Regions from separate parts of the Homo sapiens genome. Here all the other regions are linked to region 1. The links are contacts of gene promoters, found by promoter capture Hi-C in blood cells and fetal thymus (Javierre and others, 2016). All regions are on one chromosome and are shown on one strand. The core of a region is centred on a gene start or on the middle of the fragment in contact, and the rest is flanking DNA. Distances in the headings are between cores, read along the strand shown. Region 1 holds the start of SLFN12L (schlafen family member 12 like). Region 2 overlaps SLFN12 (schlafen family member 12). Region 3 overlaps SLFN13 (schlafen family member 13). Region 4 overlaps SLFN12L (schlafen family member 12 like).

Region 1 (3,239 bases), core at 464-2,963:
TTGTTTGTTTGTTTGTTTGTTTGTTTGTTTGTTTTGTAGAGATGGGGTCTTGCTATGTTATCCAGGCTGTTCTCAAACTTCTGGGCTCAAGCGATCTTCCCACCTTGGTCTCCCAAAGTGCTGGGATTACAGGCATGAGCAACCACATCCGGCCAAAAATCTAGACTCTTAATCATTGTGCAAACTGGTCTCCCAAATTATTAGGCCTCTTGGAAGACAAGAGAGTTTTCATTACTCTGGTAAGAATAACCATTCTGGAATAATCTCCCTGGTATTTGTGATAGCATTTATTTTATAAAACACATTTGATAACAAGAAAAACATAGGTCTATTTCTGTTAAACACAGGCAAGCAAAAGTCACATGTAAAAACACAGCTAGACAGAACATCTAGGGCCTTCACAAGTATCTGCTTTAATTAATGTTGGTAAACAAAAAGACCCAATGCAGTGACACATTTGCAAACATTATATCTAAATCCAACTAGATCACAGTTTCCCAGTCAATATAGCTTAAGTTTCTCTGAAAACAAAATAGTTTATATATTACGAAAAACAAAAAAACACAGTTGGGCTCAGTGGCTCATGCATGTAATCCCAGCACTTTGGGAGGCTAAGGTGGGCAGATTGCTTGAGCCCAGGAGTTTGAGACCAGTCTGAGCAAGGAAATCCAGTCTCTACAAAATATAAAAAAATTAGCTGGGTGTGGTGGTGCATGGTCTATAGTCCCAGCTCCTCGAGAGTCTGAGACGGGAGGATCACTTGAGCCTAGGGAGGTTGAGACTGCAGTGAGCCACGATTGCATCACTGCACTCCAGCCTGGGTGACAGAGTGAGAGCCTGTCTCAAAAAAAAAAAAATAAGAAAAATAAGAAACCCCTTTTCATAGTGATGAAGCAATCAGCTAACTGCTAAAGAATCTTCACAGGCGAGGCTGGGTACGGTGGCTAATGTCTATAATCCCAGCACATTGGGAGGCCAAGGTGGGACGATTACTTGAGGTCAGGAGTTTGAAACCAGCCTGGTCAATCTAGCAAGACTTCCTCTCTACAGAAACGAAAAAAATTAGCCAGGCACCCTCACGCTCAGTGCCTGTAGTCCCCGCACTTTCAAAGGCTGAAGCAGGAGGATCCTTTGAGCCCTGGAAGGTCGAAGCTGCAGTGAGTTGTGATCGCACCACTGCACGACAGCCTGGGCGAAAGAGTGAGAACCTGTCTCAAAAAAAAAAGAGAATCTTCACAGGCATCCCTTCCTCCCAAGTCTCCTCACTTGTCTTATCTGAAGGTTTGTTCCCCAGAACTATGAGAACCCTCTACATCTCTTTCTCTCAGCCCAGCCAGGTTCCTCTGGGCTTGAGTCCTACATCCCTGGCCTCAGCTACAAGGTGAGTACAGTCTAAGGACCAGCTCCTCTCATTGTCTATTTCACTTATTTATTAAAAGTGTAGACCTAAAGTGTCTACTTCATCCTCTCTTGCCTAAAGTGGGTATATCTGGAAAAGTCTGTAGCCACAGAGGAGATTTTCATCTTAGAGTTATGAGGTCTCTTTGAGAGACTCTCCATTCCATTGAATAAGCATGGCTTAGATCTCTCTGGACAATCTGTACTTACCTTGGGAGTTAAAAGATTCCACAGGGTTGAGATGCTGAAAAGATGAGAAAGTTCCAGGAGCTCTGATCTACTTAGGAGTCCCTGCAGTTTGGCTGAGGACAGTGGTAATCCTCAAAGGCTAGAAATGGCTTTCAAATCTGAGCGCTCTGCAGAACAAGTCCAGGAAAAATGCTGCTTTGGTATTTCTGAGAATGAAACTAGAAGGTTGCCGCCTTTTTAAAGTTTCCATTTCTCAGAATTCTCCTACTCATTTTAGGCCTGCCATTCTAGCCTCAAGGGGGGAATATGTGCTATTTCCTGTTTATCAATAGACTAAGTGGGCCAAAGACTAGTTCTGGCTAAAGACTAAAGAAACTTTATCAGAAGAAATGCTTCAAACACTTTGGAGAATAATGCTACAAAAAAGCTTTTTTGGATACACACCAAACTGTTATTAAGGATTACTTTCTCAGAAGTAGAACTGGAGAGGAAGAAGATGGAAAGGGAGGAGAGAATTGTTACTTTGTACAGTAGGCCTGAGTTACTCAACAAATATTTTTTATTGGCAAGGAAAAGGGAAAAAACAAAACAAAAAGAAACAGTGAAAGAGCCAGAAAGGAAATTAAACAGTGCATCTCACTGACTTTCTCATTCAATTTTTATAGTAGCCTCCATAATCCTAATAGTTGTTGTAATTAGAGCCGAGATGGATTCACTGCTATTAATTTAGCTGCTAATACTGTTGCTATTGTTCTGATCAAGTTTCTGCTACTTTTTGACCTGCTGTCTCCCTCAACAGCTGTAGGAGTCACAATTCCCTTGAGCTCTTGTTGGTTTCTTGTTCCATTTTTTTTGGGTTTCTATCCTTATACATTGAAAAAATTATTACAGTGTGGATTTAGCAATCATTTTTAGCTATAAGAAAAGGTGCTGTGCACTAGAGGGAATTGAATTAGAGATGTCATTCGTTAATCAGATAATTAGTTCCCAATCTTGGCTGCTTGTTCAAATCTTTTGGCATGCTTTTTAAAAATTCAGATGCTAAGGTCCTTCCCCAGACATTCTGAATTATACTGTCAAGTAGTGGTGCAATATCAGGAGGTAGAGACATATCACATATACACAACACACACATATAGGCATAAACATAAAGACAGACACAAATAGATCTTATAATTTTCATTTAAAATCTTAGCCATGATTAGGTATACATAAACACAAAATTTAATAATTTTGATAAAAATTGATTCTCATCTTTGCCTATTAATATTTTCTTTCGATCTCATCTTTCCATAGACATTTGTTTAGGATGACAGCTTTCTTTTAAAAAAAAATCCTTTTAGATATAAAAGTTCAAATCTTCAAAGGTATACCTGTCTTAATTGTGACTCAAAACCAGTAAGTTTTTATGGCTTAAAACCTATAAGCCTTTTATCACTTAACCATGGATGTAAGAGACATCCCCAAGGAGGATGCAAACCATGCAGCCCTTTTGCCGGGCGCGGTGGCTCACACCTATAATCTCAGTATTTTGGGAGGCTGCGGCGGGCAGATTACTTGAGGTTAGGAGTTCAAGACCAGCCTGGCTAATATGGTGAAACCCTGTCTCTACAAAAAATACAAAAATTAGCCAGGCCTGGTGGTGCATGTCA
Region 2 (3,239 bases), core at 342-2,841, 110 kb before region 1:
CTTGCCCCAGATCCCATAGAGAAAACCTCCCTGCCACCCAAGCCAAATGCATTCCTGTTGCGAATCCCCCGCTCTCAACTTGGTTCAGCCTCCACCATGAACTGGATCCATTCCTTCCTGGTCAACTGCATCACACGGTTATCTTTCACATGCCAGGAATCAGGCTCTTTAGCAAACACTGCACAGCAGAAGCGCTCCACTCTGAGTGCACAGACATATCCACAAAGACTTCCTTTATCATATACTCCAAGGAATTTGCATGAATAATTTATCTTCTTCTTCTCCATACAGAAGTGATGCACAGGCATCTTCCTAATGGACTTTTCGATTTCTCTTTCTAAGTCATCGAGGTCACTCATCTCTGCTTTAAAGCCAATTATTTCTTTATCTTCATTTAAACCAATGAACAAATATCCTCCATCAGTATTTGCAAATGCAGAAACATATTGAGGGAGAATCTCTTTAATTCGTTGTAACAACTTTTCTGTCGAGAAGTTTTTAATTTCAACATGTGTGGATTCAGTAAAGGTCAATTTTTCTTTCCGATCAAGTTCTGTTCTATCAAAAAAAACCCCGGCCAAGGCCTTCATGTTATTTTCTTCTTGTATATCAACACAGGGCCTCTTTGCCAGCAATTCTGGTCTTAAATACAATCTCCCTCTAGTCTTTTTCATGTCTTTGAGGAACTCCAGTGCAGCAGTGGCATTCATGACTTTTGCAGATGTTATATCTCTTTTGTACAAATTGGAGCTCAAGGTGGTAATCCGCAGACCAGAGGTGTTCAAGCTCCATGACTTCACAAAAATCAGAAAGTAGTTACCATTCTGCATGAAGTCTAAGTACTCAGGAACAAATAACAGAATGTTACTAAAAGAATTTTCCAAATCTAGTCCTATTCCATCTTTTGTATAACTATAGTCTTCATTCTCAATTTCAGCCTTGATCACTCCCCCTCCAGAATTGAGCAGAGCACACATAGCTCGTGAGACACTTTCATTCTGCTTTTTTCTCAGTTTACAATCCTTCATTTTTTTCCTACTGTTCTCTCCAAGAGTGACTCTTCCCACATCTAGAACCAACTCGGCATAATTCGTTTCCAAATCAACACTGATGTTCATTTTCCCAGCAGCTATGCAGTGTCCAAGCAGAAATTCTTTTCTGTAAAATAGACAGAGCCATTAGAATAGGACCTGAACTAGAAAGATAGCAAATTCTGTATTATGAGGCAAATGCAAAAAAATCCTGTGCTGTATATATTCTACTAGACTGGTAAGTATATGGATATGAAGAGACTGGCAAATTTTGAGCTAAGACCGCAATAATTTATACTCCTACTGAATTTTCAAATTTGTTACTATAGTTCTATATAATGTATTCTAATTATGTAATCTCTTTATCCGCCTTTTTTCTCCTTTCTAGTCCCTAATATTGTACAACCTGTTTTCTCTCTCCTTTTCTTAAACAACCCCTGGAGTGAGTCTATGTTTTTATCTTCTCAGTGAACCAGGCTTTAGTTATACATATTATTTCTACTTTTCTTTTTATTTTAATAATTTCAGCTTTTACCTTAATTATCTCCATTTATGGGTATAAATCTTTTGGAAGATTTCCCGTTAAGGTCTAATGACATCCAACATGTCATGTTAATTATTTTTCCTTCTTATAAGAATGAAATAGATTTATAAATTTTGGCCATTGATCTTAAGCAAAGTGGGCTAAGTCATTGTGCCCTTTTTAAATCTAATATCCACATATTTTCAATAAGGAAAATTCTTATATACAAAACACCTGTGCTATGGTTTGAATGTTTGTGTTCCCCCAAAATTCATATGTTGAAATTATAACTCCTGAGGTGATGAGGTTTTTGGGAAGTGATCAGGTTATGAGGGTGAAGCCCTCATGAATGAGATTAGTACTCTCCTAAAAGGGACCCCGGAACACTAGCTCATCCCTTCCACTATGTGAGAACACAGCAATAAGTAGGCAGTCTGCGACAGGAAAAGGGCCCTCACCAGAATCCAACAGTGCTGGCACCTTAATCTTAAACTTCCCAGCCTCCAGAACTGTGAGTCATAAATTTCTGTTATTTGTAAGCCACCCAGCTTGCGGTATTTTGTTATGGCGGCCTAAACAAACTAAGACATTGTGCTTTAGTCTATGTATCCCTAATCCATTAGCTCTGTTCCCTTAAAATCTATTAGGATCACTGCTTTGCTCTAAATGGAAACTTTTAAGTTAAGAAGTGTAACTTAAGTTTAACTTTTTTTTAAGTGTAACTTAAGTGTAACTTTTTAAGTTAAGAAGTGTGACTTAAGTTTAACTATTTTTAAATGTAACAAGTGTAACTTTTAAGTTAAGAAGTGTGACTTAAGTTTAACTTTTTTTTAAAGTGTAATTTAAGTGTAACTTTTAAGTTAAGAAGTGTGACAAGTTTAACTTTTTAAAAAAAGTGTAATTTATGTGTAACTTTTAAGTTAAGAAGTATGACTTAAGTTTAACTTTTTTAAAAGTGGAATTTAAGTGTAACTTTTAAGTTAAGAAGTGTGACTTAAGTTTAACTTTTAAGTGTAACTTAAGTGTAACTTTTAAGTTAAGTTAATAAGTGTAACTTAAGAAGTGTAGGTTTTCCGAGTGGCATAGAGACAATTGAGAATAAAGTCCATCATAGGTAGTAATTGCTATACTAGAAAAGGAATGTAAAGGGGGTCAGAATATTCCTGTCCACAGCTGGACCAATATCATGCAGATACTCAGCTAAGGTTGTGGATACCACCTGTGTCCATATAAATTCCTGATCACATGTAAACAATGTTAACATTAGAGCCCCAAACCATTTGGACAGTTGGGGTTGAATCCTTTAGTTCTTTGTCCATGTTTTCTCTTAGCTCTTTGAAGATACTTAAGACAGTGCCTGTTTTTTATTTTATTAATTTATAAATAAAATCCTATATATTGATCATGTACAATGTGTTTTTTTGAAACTTGTATATATTGTGGAATGGCTATGTTGAGCCAACTACCATATACATTACTTCACATACTTATCATTTTTTGTGGTGAACATTGCTACTATTTTAGCAACTTTCAAGAATACAGGCCCAGCACAGTGGCTCATGCCTATAATCCAAGCAGTTTGGGAGACTGAAGTGGGAGGATCACTTGAAGCCAAGAGTTCAAGACCAGCCTAGACAACAAAACAAGACCACATCTCTACAGAAAAGTAAAATAAAATAAGAATT
Region 3 (3,239 bases), core at 740-3,239, 91 kb before region 1:
ATTCCAATTCAATGGTTTTATTAAAGGAACCAATTTCCAAGGTTTTTCCTTTGCTTCTTCTTTTGTGGGAAATCACCATTCACAAAATATCTCATTTTGGCTTTTTCTCACCCAATAAAACTTCCCATCTATGAAAAGCATGGAGATTTAGAGAAAGTAAATTTCAGTGGGTGTGAGAAGGTCAAGCTTAGAGAATAAAGAAGGAAGTGGTATTGGGGAAGAGGTAGAAAGGTCAGGAAGGGAGAATCTGGTTCCCTCTTACCTGGATCTGCGTCCATCATTTTCTCTACCCATTCCTCAGTTGTCAAGGGGCGGATGTACTTCTCCCTCACCATCCATGACTTGGGAGCTTCCGAGAACACCACACAACAGAATGCCTTCACTTTAATCACACAGAGATAGCCATACAACTCTTTCCCACAAAACACTTCTACGATTTTGGTGCTGTACTCTACCCGAGGTTTTGAAGAGCAAAAATGAACAATGGGCAACTTAGAAATTGCTCTTGCAATTACATTTTTCAAAGAGTCAGGGTCAACCTGTTCTTTGGCACATCCCAGGACTTTCCTACTCTTATCATCCACTCCAATAAAAAGATAGCCTCCCTCAGTGTTTGCAAATGCAGAGATGTACTCTGGAATTATATTTTCTACATATTGTTGGATATGTTTTGTAGAGAACTGTTTAAACTCTATGGATGGAGACTCAGGAAAAGATAGGATTTCACCATATTCAATAGTGTCAGTTTGGAAAACTTCATATGCAGGATTTGACTCAGATATGTTCTGGTATACAGCTTTCATAATTTTACTAGGTGGAGACCCTTCATTAATCAGATTATATTTGGACTGTCTTTCCTTGGTCTTCAGGAAATCGAATGCCTGTCTTGAATTCATGTGAAGCACAGAGGTGCCAGATCTACAGTATAATGAAGAACTAAGGCTGCAAATGCGGGAATTGAAAGAACCATCTTTAAGGAAAGGATCACCACTCCAAGATTTAACAAAAATATAAAAACACCTTCCGTGTTGCTTAGTCTCAAAGAAAGCCTGCAAATATGGATACTGAATAAGCTTTCTCAAGGATTCTTCTAAATCCAGTCCCATCTCTGTGGGACGCTCATCCCTGTTGGCCATTTCCATCTGAATCACTCCTCCTCCTGAGTTTAATAAAGCACACGCGGCCCGTATAACTCTCGCCCTCTCTTGGTCTCTCTGAGTTTTCTGTAGCTTTTTTCTGTTTTCTTCTCCCAGAGTCACTTCTCCGACATCGATGACCAGGTCTGGGTAAGATGGATACACACCCAGGGAGCAGTGATTTGCCTCCATGTTGAACTTGCACCTTAAAGTATTAGAATATTTGTTTCATTTTTGATTAAAAAATTGTTACAGGCCTGCAATTCATTTATTAGAAAATATTTAAAACGTGTCTAATATGTGCTGGGATAAGACAATAGCAAGAAAGACAGGTATAGTCTCTTTAGGAGCTGACTGGCTGGCAGGGAAGGGAACTAATGAAATTAGCCTTTACCATCATCTGTGACATGGGCTCTAAGAGGGAAAACACATTGAATAGGGTATCTGAACGAATCTGGAGACCATGGTTCCATAAGACTTCCAGGAGTAGGTTCCATTTAGGCCAAGACTTAAAAGATGCACTAGAACTGGCCAGGTGAAATCATTAGCATTGAAACACAGAAGTAGTGGATCAGCTGAGGGGCATGTGTACCATGGCATGAGAACATCTAGGTTTGGAACAGATTCTCCATGAACATCAACTTTAGAAGATAAGTAAAAGAAGACCACATTGAAAAGGAGACTGTAGAAAAGTCTGAGTATGAAAAATCAAAGAAGTAAGAGAAAAATCAAGGGTATTTGGTATTAACAAAGCCTGGAACAAAGTCACCTGCCAAGGTTTTAAGATGTCTAATACTGCTGACAGATACAGCTAGGTAATGACTGGAAAGTGTTACTAAACCTAAGTTTAGTAAAATTAAGGTTAACTGTGACTTTGAAAAATGCTCTTCAGACACCTGGGAAATGGGCATCAGGAGGCAATAAACCAGGGGCTAAGGTCTTGGAGAACAGAGTCAATGAAGATGGCTTGAATTCCAGTTCTGCCATTTAGTACTGTTATATTAGTCTAGATATTTACTCTTTCTAACTCTATTTTCTTACTATAAAACATGGTGCAGCCACCTGTGACTGTTATTATGAAGATTAACTCAGATAGTTTACAACAAGCATTTAAAACTATGCTTTGGTTCACAGGTGTTCAGCAAAGGAACCTATATTAATTGACATTATTTTACAATGGGTTGAGGAATGAATGAGAGGTAAGGAAGTAGCATCATCAAGTGTACACCTGCTGTCTTCTTACACCAAAATCAGTCCTGAAGTACCTGTAGGCAGAAACATGTTTAGAGAGAGGCAGCAGAGTTCAGAGGTCAAGATTCAGAAATAAAGGCTGGGACATTCACAATCTTACCAGTTTGCCTAATTTAGACCCTTGCCTAGAAATTTCTACCGTCAGGATTCTGTCTTGCATTCCGAGACCACTGAAACATCTTTGTCAAGTTACCTGTAAAATATTCTTTTTGATATATGGGGACTTCAAAGTTAAATCTTTTCTCTTTACCCCCATGAACTTTATTGTTAAAGCCTAGATAAGCTGATAGTTTTTCATTGGTAACTGTATTCAAATGGCAACCCCACCCATATCTTTTGCAGGCAGAAAAGTCTTAGGGAGCTCTATCCCAGCTCTTCCTTTGGGTATAAAGGTATTATAGTCAGTGCTACTTGCAGATTCTTTGTAAGGTAGAGATATTGTTTCCTAAATAAAATTGAAACCCTAAATAAAACTGAACTATTCAATAACAAATTGAGAATTCAGGTGAAAAAAATCAGGAAGCTTACCAATATATTTAACAAAAGCAACTGATTCTGTTGTATTTACAGAATAACTTTGCTAGAATTCCTTTCTTAATGTAACCAGACTTCCCACCAGCACAGTGAATGCCCACCGCCTGCTGTCTTCTTCCACCAAAATCAGTCCTGAAAGACCTGTATGCAGAAACATGTAGAGAGAGGCAGTAGAGTTCAGGGGTCAAGATTCAGACTTCTTTGAACCCCCCCTACACATGCATGGGAATAATTAGAGATAATTCTTGCCCTTGCTTCTCTGTGGAAATTGATGGAAACAGTTTCGCCTCCTACACAGGTATACTGTAGGTAAAATCA
Region 4 (3,239 bases), core at 262-2,761, 71 kb before region 1:
ACTGTAAGGTTTTTTGTTTTCTGTTTTTTGCTTTTTTTAGAGAGAGATAAAGTCTTGCTCTGTCACCCAGGCTGGAGTGCGGTGGTGCCATCTTGGCTCACTGCAACCCCCGCCTCCCAGGTTCAAGTGATTCTCCTGCCTCAGCTTCCCAAGTAGCTGGGACTACGGGAGCACACCACCACATCCAGCTAATTTTTGTATTTTTTAGTAGAGATGAGGTTTCACTATATGTTCGCCAGGCTGGTCTCGAACTCCTGGCCTCAAGTGATCCGCCTGTCTCGGCCTCCCAAAGTGCTGGGATTACAGGCGTGAGCCACCACGCCTGGCCAGAACTGAAAGCTCTAAATTAACTTTAACATTTGCCAAAATGCACCAATTGAGAAACCTCGTGGACTTAATAAATACTCAAATTATACTTATGCCTGAGGTTCCAACAAATTTAAACATTGTACCCCATATAATTTTAAAAGGTAGCTAAATAGCTTTTTAAAAATAGCTATGCCTTATTTTATATCTTGATTGAATTGCTCATAGTTGTTGTACTCAGTGCCTTAAAGTATCTCGTATTGAACATAGACTCCATGTCACAATAAATAATAAATTAAAATTAAATTTTTGGCACTCAAAAATTGGCTTGATAAAATAGGATTATATAAATCCCATTAAAATAGTTAATATGGTTCAATGTAAGTTAAAATAGGCCCTTGAAGGATTGAAAGTTGTTACATAAAACCTCATTTATATAACATAAAAGGGATAAAGGAGATAAGTATTCCCTGCTGCTTGTCCGTTTAACAGCCCAGTGTTGCCTGTTCTTAAACCTGGAAAATAATAAGCAGCAGGCACCTCACGGTGGAGGACTACAACATTATTGCTGTGGTCTTGTCGACTAGGGCCTCATAGCCAGTATCTAGTATGATTAACATTATTAACTCTATCCAATCAATAACTGCTAAATACTCTGTTCTTACAGACTTGGCTAATATGTTCAATATGTTCAATTCCGTGCCTATTTCAACAGACTCCACTGTAGTTTGCCTCCATTGCTGAAGAGACACAATATACCTCTTGCAGGCTACACCTCAGTACCTTCACAATTTTGCCATCATGCACACATCTTACAGACAAGATCTTTTTTAATACTTAATTTTTCTAGAGCAGATTCACAGCAAAATTGAGCGGAAAGTACAAAGATTTTCCATATACCCACTGCCCGCACTCATGCATAGCCTCCCCCATTAGCAACATCTCCCATTAGTGTGGTACATTTGTTACAATTGATTAATCTAAATTAATACATCATAATCACTCAAAATCCATTGCGACTTTTACATTAGCGTTCATTCTTCTTGTACATTTTATGGGTTCAGACAAATGTATAATGACATATATCTACTATATAGTATCAAACACAGGATTTTCATGGCCTTAAGAATCCTCTGTGGTTCAACTATTCATTCCTCCCACTCCCTTAATCCTTGGAAACCACCGATCATTTTACTGTCTCCATAATCTTGCCTTTTACAGAATGTCATATAGTTGGAATCATACAGTATATAGCCTTTTCAGATGGCCTTCTTTTTAAAGAGACAGGGACAGACAAGATCTTAAGTGCATGCACCTTCCTCTGGGAGCACAGATATGATATTACATTAATAACCTCCTCCAAGGAGATGTCACTTAATCTACTCATATGGACATAAGAGTCCAACATCTTTTCATCCTTTTTGGGTTTTCATGGCAAAATATTCTTCACTTACAAATTTTACTTAATCTCATTGAGCTGTAACTCACAAATGAACCCACTTTAAATGTGGCAGCCTCAAACAAAAAGGCTCTAAAATCTATCCAAATTAATACCAACAGACAGACCCATTGGTGCCTGCATTGATTCCTTTACTGAAGAGACTTTAACAAGCTCTACTCATGCCTCCTAAAGTCTAGACCACCTGTGATGGCTACGAATTGCCTGAGGGCTCTCAGCCTCATGCTATATGCCATTAAAACCACAAATGACTAGCTCCATACTGGGCTCTCCTGGACATAGAGGCTTTCACAGATTCTGAGTCTGTGACCCTCCATACCTGGCTACCTGTTATGCTTTCAGTCATGGAAACAGCACCCTGCAAGCTCAGCCTCTCAGAGGGCCCAGGTTTGTCTCTAACCTGTCTCAAGGAGGCTACCAAGTCCTGGGCTCTCTAGCATATTCACACGCAGAAGGGAGTGACGTCCCCAGTCCTTGGTCCCTTGCCAGATGCCATAGTGCTGGAGGAGGTCACCTCTCCTCCAGACCCCTTGGTTACCTGGAAAGCTCCTTTGGATTGACTGAGTGAACAGCAATAGAAGTTCACGGACTATATGAATGGCACTGCCAACCACCATACATGATGGAGCTAGGTGGAATATTACCGAATGCTGGATGCCCTGGCCAACAAATGGCCCCATCTCCATATTCCTTTTGAACAATTGAGCCATTGCCTAATGAATTGTCCCTTTCAGATTAAGGAACACTAAGAACCTCTTTCCTCTTAGATACCCAAAATCACGTGTCTATGTATATTAAGGCCACCATATGAGGCCTTACAATTACCAAGGTAATAACCAAGGCACACATTTCACATTGCAAAATACACACTGAATGGGCTCCCGAAACAAACAGGCATTCAATAAAACTTTCATGACCCTAATAGGTCCCAAATAGCCAGTTTAACAGAGAGACATAAGAGTCTCCCCAAACAACTTCTTTTAAAGTTCCAGTCCAACAAATGGACCTCTCAATGGGTCTTTATCTTGCCCCAGGCCTTAACCTATTTTTATAGATTTTCAATATCAAACCCCCCCCATCAGGAGGCCACAGCAGGTGTGTATATTCTCTGGGGTCCAATTAATAGTGATTGTCCAATGGGCTAGGCAGCTGCTTATCTGATATGGGACCCGTTTGAGCCTAAACTTCAACCATGAAGCAAGCAAGCAAGCAAGCAAAAACCAAAACTCTGTCAAATGCAGCTGCACACCATTCTGTTTTCTGTTTATCTTTTTTGTTTTGTTTGTTTGTTTTTGCTTTTTGTTTTGGTCTGAGACAAGGTCTCACTCTGTTACCCAGGCTGGAGTGCAGTGGCGTGATCACGATTCACTCCCCACTCTACTTCCTGGGTTCAGACAATCCTCTCACCTCAGCCTCCTGAGAAGCTGCGACCACAGGCACACACTACCACGCCCAGCTAATTTTTTATGTTTTT

The links. The method cuts DNA at HindIII sites, captures the fragments that hold promoters and counts their contacts. A CHiCAGO score of 5 or more calls a contact.
Region 2: a contact is called between a fragment that was not itself captured here and the fragment with the promoter of SLFN12L in region 1, in 6 of 17 cell types (total CD8 T cells, naive CD8 T cells, total CD4 T cells and 3 more). The highest score is 9.3, in total CD8 T cells.
Region 3: a fragment that was not itself captured here is called in contact with the fragment with the promoter of SLFN12L in region 1 in 7 of 17 cell types (total CD8 T cells, non-activated CD4 T cells, naive CD8 T cells and 4 more); the score reaches 12.7 in total CD8 T cells.
Region 4: a contact is called between a fragment that was not itself captured here and the fragment with the promoter of SLFN12L in region 1, in 4 of 17 cell types (total CD8 T cells, naive CD8 T cells, total CD4 T cells and 1 more). The highest score is 8.2, in total CD8 T cells.

The regions. Positions count from the first base shown.
Region 1 is chr17:35,535,965-35,539,203 of GRCh38, forward strand. SLFN12L (schlafen family member 12 like) reads right to left here and starts at 1,714. Exons shown (of 5, transcript NM_001363830.2): 1 at 1,609-1,714. RefSeq lists an enhancer at 1,042-1,121. The HindIII fragment of the contact is 3,143 bases long and covers 1-2,012 here.
Region 2 is chr17:35,421,911-35,425,149 of GRCh38, forward strand. SLFN12 (schlafen family member 12) reads right to left here. Exons shown (of 4, transcript NM_018042.5): 2 at 80-1,158. The coding sequence starts at 1,118. Among named protein-coding and RNA genes, the nearest start is that of SLFN12, 9.0 kb to the right of the region's middle. The HindIII fragment of the contact is 5,564 bases long and covers 1-3,239 here.
Region 3 is chr17:35,444,353-35,447,591 of GRCh38, forward strand. SLFN13 (schlafen family member 13) reads right to left here. Exons shown (of 6, transcript NM_144682.6): 2 at 2,916-3,062; 3 at 263-1,341. The coding sequence starts at 1,328. Among named protein-coding and RNA genes, the nearest start is that of SLFN13, 2.8 kb to the right of the region's middle. The HindIII fragment of the contact is 1,837 bases long and covers 1,072-2,908 here.
Region 4 is chr17:35,464,852-35,468,090 of GRCh38, forward strand. It overlaps SLFN12L (schlafen family member 12 like), which reads right to left. Exons shown (of 5, transcript NM_001363830.2): 5 at 1-3,239. Among named protein-coding and RNA genes, the nearest start is that of SLFN13, 18 kb to the left of the region's middle. The HindIII fragment of the contact is 5,564 bases long and covers 1-3,239 here.